Regions from separate parts of the Homo sapiens genome. Here regions 2 and 3 are each linked to region 1. Evidence: promoter capture Hi-C in 16 types of primary human blood cells and fetal thymus (Javierre and others, 2016). All regions are on one chromosome and are shown on one strand. The core of a region is centred on a gene start or on the middle of the fragment in contact, and the rest is flanking DNA. Distances in the headings are between cores, read along the strand shown.

Region 1 (2,789 bases), core at 210-2,709:
CAAGGGAAAAGGGCTTGAAACCAGGGCAAGACGAGAGGCTTCAGGTCCAGGAGTTTTCTGGAAGAAGGATCTGGGGCCAGGCCCTGTAGCTGAGGAAGGCCTCTGAAGCTGAGGAGGGGGCTTCCTTGGAAGGCCAGACTCCCAGCAAGGAAGGGGGAGGCCCTGGGGCAGGAGAAAGGACGGTGGTTTGTGGGGAAGGGGTCTGAGTTTGGCCTAGCAGGGGGTCCAGAGGTTGGGGGTTGGGGAAGGGGCTGCCTGAAGCTGAGAAGTTGATAGAGGGCGGATGAGGCCTGGAGTCAGACTGGTCCAGGGCCTAGAAATACCAGCCTGGGTGAGGTGAGGGCCTAGAAGTTGGAGGCCAAGGCTTCCTGGGAGAGGAAGAGACCAGAAAGGGTCCAGGTGGCATCTGGGGGCCCCGGGGTGCTGGGATCTAGGGACAGGGCTGCTTGGAAGATGGGGACCAGGCCTGGGACGGGAGAGACCTTGAAGAAGCCAGAAAAGGGCCGGGGCCCAGGAGAGGTGGAAACCAGCTTCCTGCCAGGGGCTGCCCACAGGCGCCCTGGGTGCGTCCTGGAGGGGCAGAGGGCTGGGAATAAGAGGAGGGGGGCTCCTGGGGAGCCGGCACCCAGCCCCAGACAGGGAAGGCCGGAGCCAGAGGCAGGACTGGGCCAGGCCCTGCTGAGAGTGCCAGGGCCGGGCCTTGGGGGGTCAGGGGCCCTGCAAATCCGGGAGGGGGCGAGGTGTCGGACGCGGACGGCCTGGAGGGGAAACGGCTTAGCACAGGCAAGAGAAGGGAGGGGCTCCTGGAAGCAGGGGAAGGGGCTTCCTGGAGGGAACAGACCCGAGCGGAAGCGGTCTGCACGGGGACAAGAGAGGGGTCCCGAGAGAGGGGCGCCCCCAGGGGTCGGGCTGGGCTGGAAAAGGTGGGGAGGGTGGAGAGGCCTGGAAGTCCGGGAGGGGTCGAGAGGTGACGAGCCGGGTCGGGCCCAGGAAACGAGGGTAGGGGCTCGCGGGGCGAGGGGTACAACGGGGAGAAGGGTTTGGCGGCTGGACCCAGCCAGGGCTCCCCAAGGGGCCGGGCCCCACTCACCGTGTCCGAGTTCCGATCGTTGCCCGGGGCCAGCACCGTCCGCGAAGACATCTTCTCCGGGTCCCGGGGGGCAGGGGCGGCCGGGTGGGGGGGGCGGGGGTCCCAGGGTCCCCTCTCTTCCCCTCCCCCCCCGCCGGCCTGGGGACGCGAGCTCAAAAGCTGGGCGCCGAGAACGCCCGGGTCCGCGCGGCGGGAGAGGGGGCAGGGCGGGGGAGGGGAAGGGACGCCGAGGGTCCTAGTGGCCCCGTGCAGCGGGGACCCCGGGCGCCATGGGGGCGGCGGGCAGGCGGGCGGGCGGGGGCCGCGGAGGGGGCGCGGAGCCGGCCCAAGCGGCGGCGGAGGGAGGCGGTGGAGGGGCTGGGGAGGGAGGAAGGGACGTCAGGGGGAGGGGCGGGCAGGGCGGGGCGCCGGGACCCCGCCCCCCGCCGCCGGCCCTTAAAGGCGCAGGCCCGGGCTGGTCGGGGCGCCGGGGGCTCCGGGGGCTCCGGGGGCGGAGGCGGGTCTGGGCACGCCGGCGGGGAGCGTGTTCTCGCCCGAGACGAGAGGCGCACTGGAGAGGAGAGAAGGGGAGAGAGAGGCCGGGGCAGAGCGCCAGAGACGCAGAGAGAGAGATCGAGAGACGTAGAGATAGAGAGACACGAAGAGAGAGAGACGAGTTACAAAAGGGTGGAGAGGCGCAAGGAGATGAAGGAAGAGCCAGATGACAGAGAGAGAGAGACGCAGGGAGACAGAGACAGAGAGACCCAGAGACGCAGAGGGACAAAGACTGAGAGAGACCCCACACACACACAGGGAGAGACAAAGAGATACAGAGACGCAGAGATCTGTGAAGAGATAGAGATAAAGGGACTGAGCCAGAGAAGACCCCAGAGGCGCTGCCCACATTGTCCCTCCCCCTGGCCCATTCTCTCCCCAGTTGGCGGGGGGGAGCGGGGGAAGCTCTCCCCTCGGAGGCCTAAGGGTGGGGTGGGTGAAGGGGATGGTGTGCGGGGCTTGGCCACTGCTGAGGGCTCAGTGACCTCCCTAGTCAGGCTGCCTCCACTCAGCCACATAGATCCAGACCCGCAGGTTGGGGCTGCAGCATCCACTCCTTTGCACCCCAGCTGGGGTGTGGGGACCCTCTCTGTCCACCTGTATGACCCGGGGCAAGCACTTGCCCTTTCTGGGCTTCACTTTCCCAGTTTGTAAAGTGAAAGGAAGAATCCGTGTGTTGCTCACTGGCAGGTGCGAAGGAACCCTGTGCAGGTATTCGCCTGCAGGGCACAGCCACTCCCCATGCGGGCAGGCTGAGACCAGAGAGGACAAGAGCCTCTCGGAGGCCACACAGCGCTGTGGGGACCATCCATGCTCTGTGGACCAGGGTGGGATGAAAGAAAGACAGGCATTACATAGTCTTGGCCTGGGAGTCACATGGTTTTGGGAAGGGGTCTGTGCCCTGCCTTCTTCTATCTGAGGCTTATTTTCCTGAGCCTCAGTTTCCCCTTCTAAAACAGCAGTGTGCTGGATCTGGCTGGAGCGAGCTGATTGTTATGTCTCAGGAATTTTGGAACTGGTTGTTAAACACAGCCATTATTAAAAATTAAATTATGCAAACATACAATTAAATTACATTAAAGGTACAAGTAATACATACTCATCACGTCCTAGTTATCTTACTACATTTGCCATTATCTGTGATCTTGAGGTTACCTACGTCTAT
Region 2 (2,789 bases), core at 128-2,627, 240 kb after region 1:
CCACCTCAGCCCTACCATGTAGCTAGGACTACAGCCATGTGCCACCACACCTGGCTAATTTTTGTATTTTTTGTAGAGATGGGGTTTTGCCGTCTTGCCCAGGCTCATCTAGAACTCCTGAGCTCGAGTGATCCGCTCGCCTCGACCTCCCAAAGTGCTAGAATTACAAGCCTGAGCCACCGCACCACGATCTGCCTTCTTTTTTTTTTTTCTTTTTTTTTGAGACAAGGTCTCACTCTGTTACCCAGACTGCTATGCAATGGTGCAATCTCAGCTCACAGCAGCCTGCACCTCCCTGGGCTCAGCTAATCCTCCCACCTCGGCCTCCTAAATAGCTGGGATTGTGCCACCACACTCGGCTAATTTGTGTACTTTTAGTACAGATGGGGTTTCACCATGTTGGCCAGGCTGGTCTCGAACTCCTGACATCAAGGGATCCGCCCGCCTCAGACTCCCAAAGTACTGGGATTACAGGCGCGAGTCACCGTGCCCAGCCAAATGTCCGACCCCTCCTTTTTTCTGAACCTTTTGGATTCCAGGCCAGGTGATAGTATAATTAATATCTGGTCCAACAATAACAACAACAGCCACCATCAAATAAACGTATAAATGCATGTGGATGGCTCCGGGGTGCAGGGGAAGCCCCAGTCCCACCCGCCCGGGGCCGCTCGCCGGGCCCACCTCGATGGCGGGCAGCGTCTTGCTGGCCTCGGTGCTGCTCTCCCCAAGGATGCTGCCGGCCGAGCGGCCCTCGCACTCGTAGCGGAAGCGCATGCCGCGCTGCTTGGGCTGCTCCGTGATGACCAGGTGCGGCTGCGGGCCCGGGCCCGGCGCTGGGGACACTAGTCGGCCCAGGGGGCAGCCCCAAGGCGGCGGCGTGGCTGGGGGCGCCACAGGGCCCAGGGTGACCGTGCTCAGGGACGCAGCCCCGCGAGACACCAGGCGTGGCAGCCCCTCGCCCGGGCCCGGCTGTCCCCCGTCCAGGCCGAAGCCGTTCTCCTTGATGTACTCGTCGATGATCTCTGCGGGAGAAGAAAAAACGGGTGGTGACGCCCATTCTTTAAAAAATTAAAAAAAAAAAAAAAGGCTTGATTACCCCCGAGACGTTTTCCATCCCATTTATCTCTCTCTCTCTCTCTCTCTCTCTCTCTCTCTCTCTCACACACACACACACACACACACACACACACACACACACACAGAGTCAGGGAGGCCAGGTGCGGTGGCTCACGCCTGTAATCCCAACACCTTGGGAGGCCAAGGTGGGTGAATCAATTGAGGTCAGGAGTTCGAGACCAGCCTGGCCAACATAGTGAAACCCCGTCTCTACAAAAATTAGCCCGAATGGTCTCCCACGTCTGTAATCCCAGCTACTCAGGAGGCTGAGGCAGGAGAACAGCTTGAACCCAGGAGGCGGACACTGCAGTAAGTCAAGATCGTGACACTGCACGCCAGCCTGGGCGACAGAGTGAGACTCCGTCTCTCAATAAATAATAGGCTGGGCGCGGTGGCTCATGCCTGTAATCCCAGCATTTCGGGAGGCCGAGGCGGGCGGATCATGAGGTCAGGAGATCGAGACCATCCTGGCTAACACAGTGAAACCCTGTCTCTACTAAAAATACAAAAAATTAGCCAGGCATGGTGGCACGTGCCTGTAGTCCCAGCAACTCAGGAGGCTGAGGCAGGAGAATCGCTTGAAACCGTCAGGCGGAGGTTGCAGTGAGCCGAGATTGCGTCACTGCACTCCATCCTGCGCAACAGAGCAAGACTCCATCTCAAAAAATAATAATAATAAATAAATAAATAGGCTGGGCATGGTGGCTCACGCCTGTAATCCCAGCACTTTGGGAGGCCGAGGCAGGCGGATCACCTGAGGTCAGGAGTTTGAGACCTGCCTGGCGAACATGGTGAAACCCCATCTCCACTAAAAATATAAAAATTGGGCATGGTGATGTGTGCCTGCAGTTCCAGCTACTCGGGAGGCAGAGGCAGGAGAATCACTTAAACCTGGGAGGTGGAGGTTGCAGTGAGCCAAGATCATGCCATTGCACTCCAGCCTGGGCAACAAGAGCGAAATTCCATCTCTAAATAAATAGATAAATAAATACAAAAATGAGCCAGGTATGTTGGTGCATGCCTGTACTCCCAGCTACTCGGGAGGCTGAGGCAGGAGAATTGCTTGAACCTGGGAGGTGGAGGTTGCAGTGAGCTGAGACAGCACCACTGCACTCCAGCCTGGGCGACAGAGCGAGACTCTGTCTCAAAAAATAACTTAAATAAATAAATAAGAAAGAACTTGCTCCTCCAACTGCCTGTTCCACACGGTCCCCCATTCAACCCATGCTGGCTGCTTCTCCTCCTGGTCTCAGCTCGTATGTTATCTCTTCAGAAAAGCCTAACCTAATGTGTCTTCTCCAGGCCATCTCTCCCTCGTCCTGTTTATTTCTTTCACAGCTCTCAGCCCAGGCTAACATTATCTTGCTCATCTGTTCATTTTCCTCTGTCTCCCACACCGGGCTATCAGCTCTGCGAGGGCAGGGACTTGGTTTTGTTCATGGCTAAATCCCCAGGGCCTAAAACAGTGTCTGTCTGTACTCACTAGGGGATTAATAACATTATTTTATTTTAATTGGTTTTCTTTTTGAGACACGGTCTTGCTCTGCCGCCCAGGCTGCAGTGCAGTGGTGCAATCATAGCTCACTGCAGCCTCGGCTTCCAAGGCAACCTCCCAGGCTCAGGTGATCCTCCCACTTCAGCCTCCTGAGCAGCTGGGACTACAGGTGCGCACC
Region 3 (2,789 bases), core at 155-2,654, 210 kb after region 1:
CTGACACTATCGGAGATGAGTTCTCCCTTTAGCCCCGTGGTTCCTTCCTGGGTGGCAGAGGTAAGCAAGGAGCTCTCAGAGCTTCCTCTTCTCTGCTGAGTGGAAGTAAGAGCGGTCTCTGTCTCACAGGTGACTGTGGGGATTCAAAAAAAATCCTGCATCTCTCACATGGCCTGGGGGTGCCTGCGAAGGATCAATTAAATGGTTAATTACTATTGTTAATATTGTTTTATTCATCTATTCTTTCAAACCATATTTGATGGACCCAACCCTAGGGTACAAACGTGACCCAAATATAATTAGTCCCCAGTCTCACAGAGCTGGGTATGTGCATATACGTATGAATGGAAAAAATTTTTTTTTTTTTTTTTTTTTTTGGGACGGAGTCTCGCTCTGTCGCCCAGGCTGGAGTGCAGTGGCACTATCTCGGCTCACTGCAAGCTCTGTCTCCCGGGTTCATGCCATTCTCCTGCCTCAGCCTCCCGAGTAGCTGGGAGTACAGGTGCCCACCACCACGCCCAGCTAATTTTTTGTATTTGTAGTAGAGACGGGACACACACACACACACACACACACACACACACACACACACAAAGTATTCCTTATCTGAAGTGCTTGGGATCAGAGGTGCTTCAGATTTTTTCAGATTTTGGAATATTTGTCTATTCATAATGAGATATCTTAGGGATGGCACCCAAGTCCAAAGACCAAATTCATTTATACTTTATAAGCACAGCCTGAAGGTAATTGTATACAATATTTTAAATAATTTTGTGCATGAAACAAAGTTTGTGTAAAGTACTTATATGTGAAACTTTCCACTTATAGTGGGGCATCATGTCAGTATGCAGAAAGTTTCAGATTTTGGAGCTAGCCGGGCGTGGTGGCTCACGCCTGTAATCCCAGCACTTTGGGAGGCCGAGGCAAGCAAATCACTTGAGGTCGGGAGTTCAAGACTAGCCTGACCAACATGGTGAAACCCTGTCTCTACCAAAAGTGCAAAAATTAGCCAGGCATAGTGGCACATGCCTGTAATTCCAGCTACTCAGGAGGTTGAGTGAGGCAGGAGAATAGCTTGAACCTGGGGGGTGGACGTTACAGTGAGCTGACATCATGCCACTGCACTCCAGCCTGGGCGACTAAGCAAGACTCTGCCTCAAAAAAAAAAAAAGATTTTGGAGCATTTCGGATTTTGAATTAGGGATGTTCAACCTGTGTATGCGTATGTGTGTGCGTGTGTGTATACATACATACACACACATATATATATATATATAAATTTTTTTTTTGAGATGGAGTCTCACTCTGTTGCCCAGGCTGGAGAGCAATGCAACCTATGCCTCCCGGGTTCAAGCAATTCTCCTGCCTCAGCCTCCCGAGTAGCTGGGATTACCATTTACTCCTGTATTACTGCCCCAGCCTCTTCCCTGGTCTGCTGGCCTCCAGTCCTGGCTCCTCCAGTCTGTCCTCCCTAGAAGAGTCCAGGAGGCCTTTCTAAAGCACAAAACTGACCCTGTCCCTTCATTGCTCAGAGCACCTCTATGGCTCCTAAGTGCCCTTGAGAGAAAGCCCAGGCTCCTCACCACCTCCAGCTAATTTCTGTATTTTTAGTAGAGACGAGGTTTCATCATGTTAGCCAGGCTGGTCTCAAACTCTTGACCTGAGGTGATCCACCTGCCTTGGCCCCCAAAATGCTGGGATTACAGGCGTGAGCCACCACACCAGGCCCATGTATGTGTATCTTAAGTGTGTTAAATTCCACAAAGGGGAAGGAAAGGGAGCTATGATTATGGCATTTTTAGAGGACACCTGACTGAGCTTGGGAAACAAGACTTCTCTGAGGACTGAGATCTGACAGATAAGCAGTAGTTAACCAGGTATGGGAAGAGCTCATACAAAGGTCCTGTGGCTGGGGAGCGCTTGGGTCAGTGGAGGAATAGCAAGGAGGCCAAAATGACTTGTGCAAAGGAACAAGGCAGAGTGTGGGGTGGTGTGAGTCTGGAGGAAGGGCAAAGGCCAGGCCATGCAGGACCCTAAAGGCCACAGTGAGGAGCCTGGGCTTTCTCTCAAGGGCACTTAGGAGGCATAGAGGTGCTCTGAGCAACGAAGGGACAGGGTCAGTTTTGTGCTTTAGAAAGGCCTCTTGGACTCTTCTAGGAAGGACAGACTGGAGGAGCCAGGACTGGAGGCCAGCAGACCAGGGAGGAGGCTGGGGCAGTAATACAGGAATAACTGGGAAAGGTCTATATAAATGTCATCTGACAGGAACACTGAACCTAGAAAACAGGTGCCATTTCAAGCTGGGATCCCAAGGATACACAGGAGTTAAATAGGTGAGGGGGGGTAATATAGGCCAAAGCCCTGTGGTGGCAGAAATAGAAGGCCAGTGGAGCTGTCCGAGTATGAAGCTGAGTGGTCAGACCACAAGGGTCTTTTAGGCCAGGGATAGTTTGGTCTTCCCCGCAAAAACAACTGAAGCATCAGACAGGAGAGGGAAGTGGTCAGGTTTCACTTAATATTCACTCCTTTTTTTTTGAGACAGTCTTTTTTTTTTTTTTTTTGAGACAGAGTCTCGCTGTCGCCCAGGCTGGAGTGCAATGGTGCTATCTCAGCTCACTGCAGGCTCCGCTCTGCCCCCCTCCCCGGTTCACACCATTCTCCTGCCTCAGCCTCCCGAGTAGCTGGGACTACAGGCACCCGCCACCTCACCTGGCTAATTTTTTGTATTTTAATAGAGATGGGGTTTCACCGTGTTAGCCAGGACGGTCTCGATCTCTTGACCTTGTGAT

What was found. Contacts are between HindIII fragments. The CHiCAGO score rates a contact against its expected background, and 5 or more counts as called.
Region 2: a fragment that was not itself captured here is called in contact with the fragment with the promoter of MARK4 in region 1 in 1 of 17 cell types (M0 macrophages); the score reaches 5.4 in M0 macrophages.
Region 3: a fragment that was not itself captured here is called in contact with the fragment with the promoter of MARK4 in region 1 in 1 of 17 cell types (non-activated CD4 T cells); the score reaches 5.4 in non-activated CD4 T cells.

What each region holds. Positions count from the first base shown.
Region 1 is chr19:45,249,941-45,252,729 of GRCh38, reverse strand. MARK4 (microtubule affinity regulating kinase 4) reads right to left here and starts at 1,459. Exons shown (of 17, transcript NM_001199867.2): 1 at 1,091-1,459. The coding sequence starts at 1,141. RefSeq lists an enhancer at 1-551 and silencers at 1,025-1,174, 1,405-1,784. The HindIII fragment of the contact is 10,557 bases long and covers 1-2,789 here.
Region 2 is chr19:45,010,169-45,012,957 of GRCh38, reverse strand. It overlaps RELB (RELB proto-oncogene, NF-kB subunit), which reads right to left. Exons shown (of 12, transcript NM_006509.4): 4 at 682-1,022. Among named protein-coding and RNA genes, the nearest start is that of RELB, 10 kb to the right of the region's middle. RefSeq lists an enhancer at 824-1,325. The HindIII fragment of the contact is 8,461 bases long and covers 1-2,789 here.
Region 3 is chr19:45,041,000-45,043,788 of GRCh38, reverse strand. All of the region lies in intron 2 of CLASRP (CLK4 associating serine/arginine rich protein), which reads right to left. Among named protein-coding and RNA genes, the nearest start is that of CLASRP, 3.3 kb to the right of the region's middle. The HindIII fragment of the contact is 4,283 bases long and covers 1-2,789 here.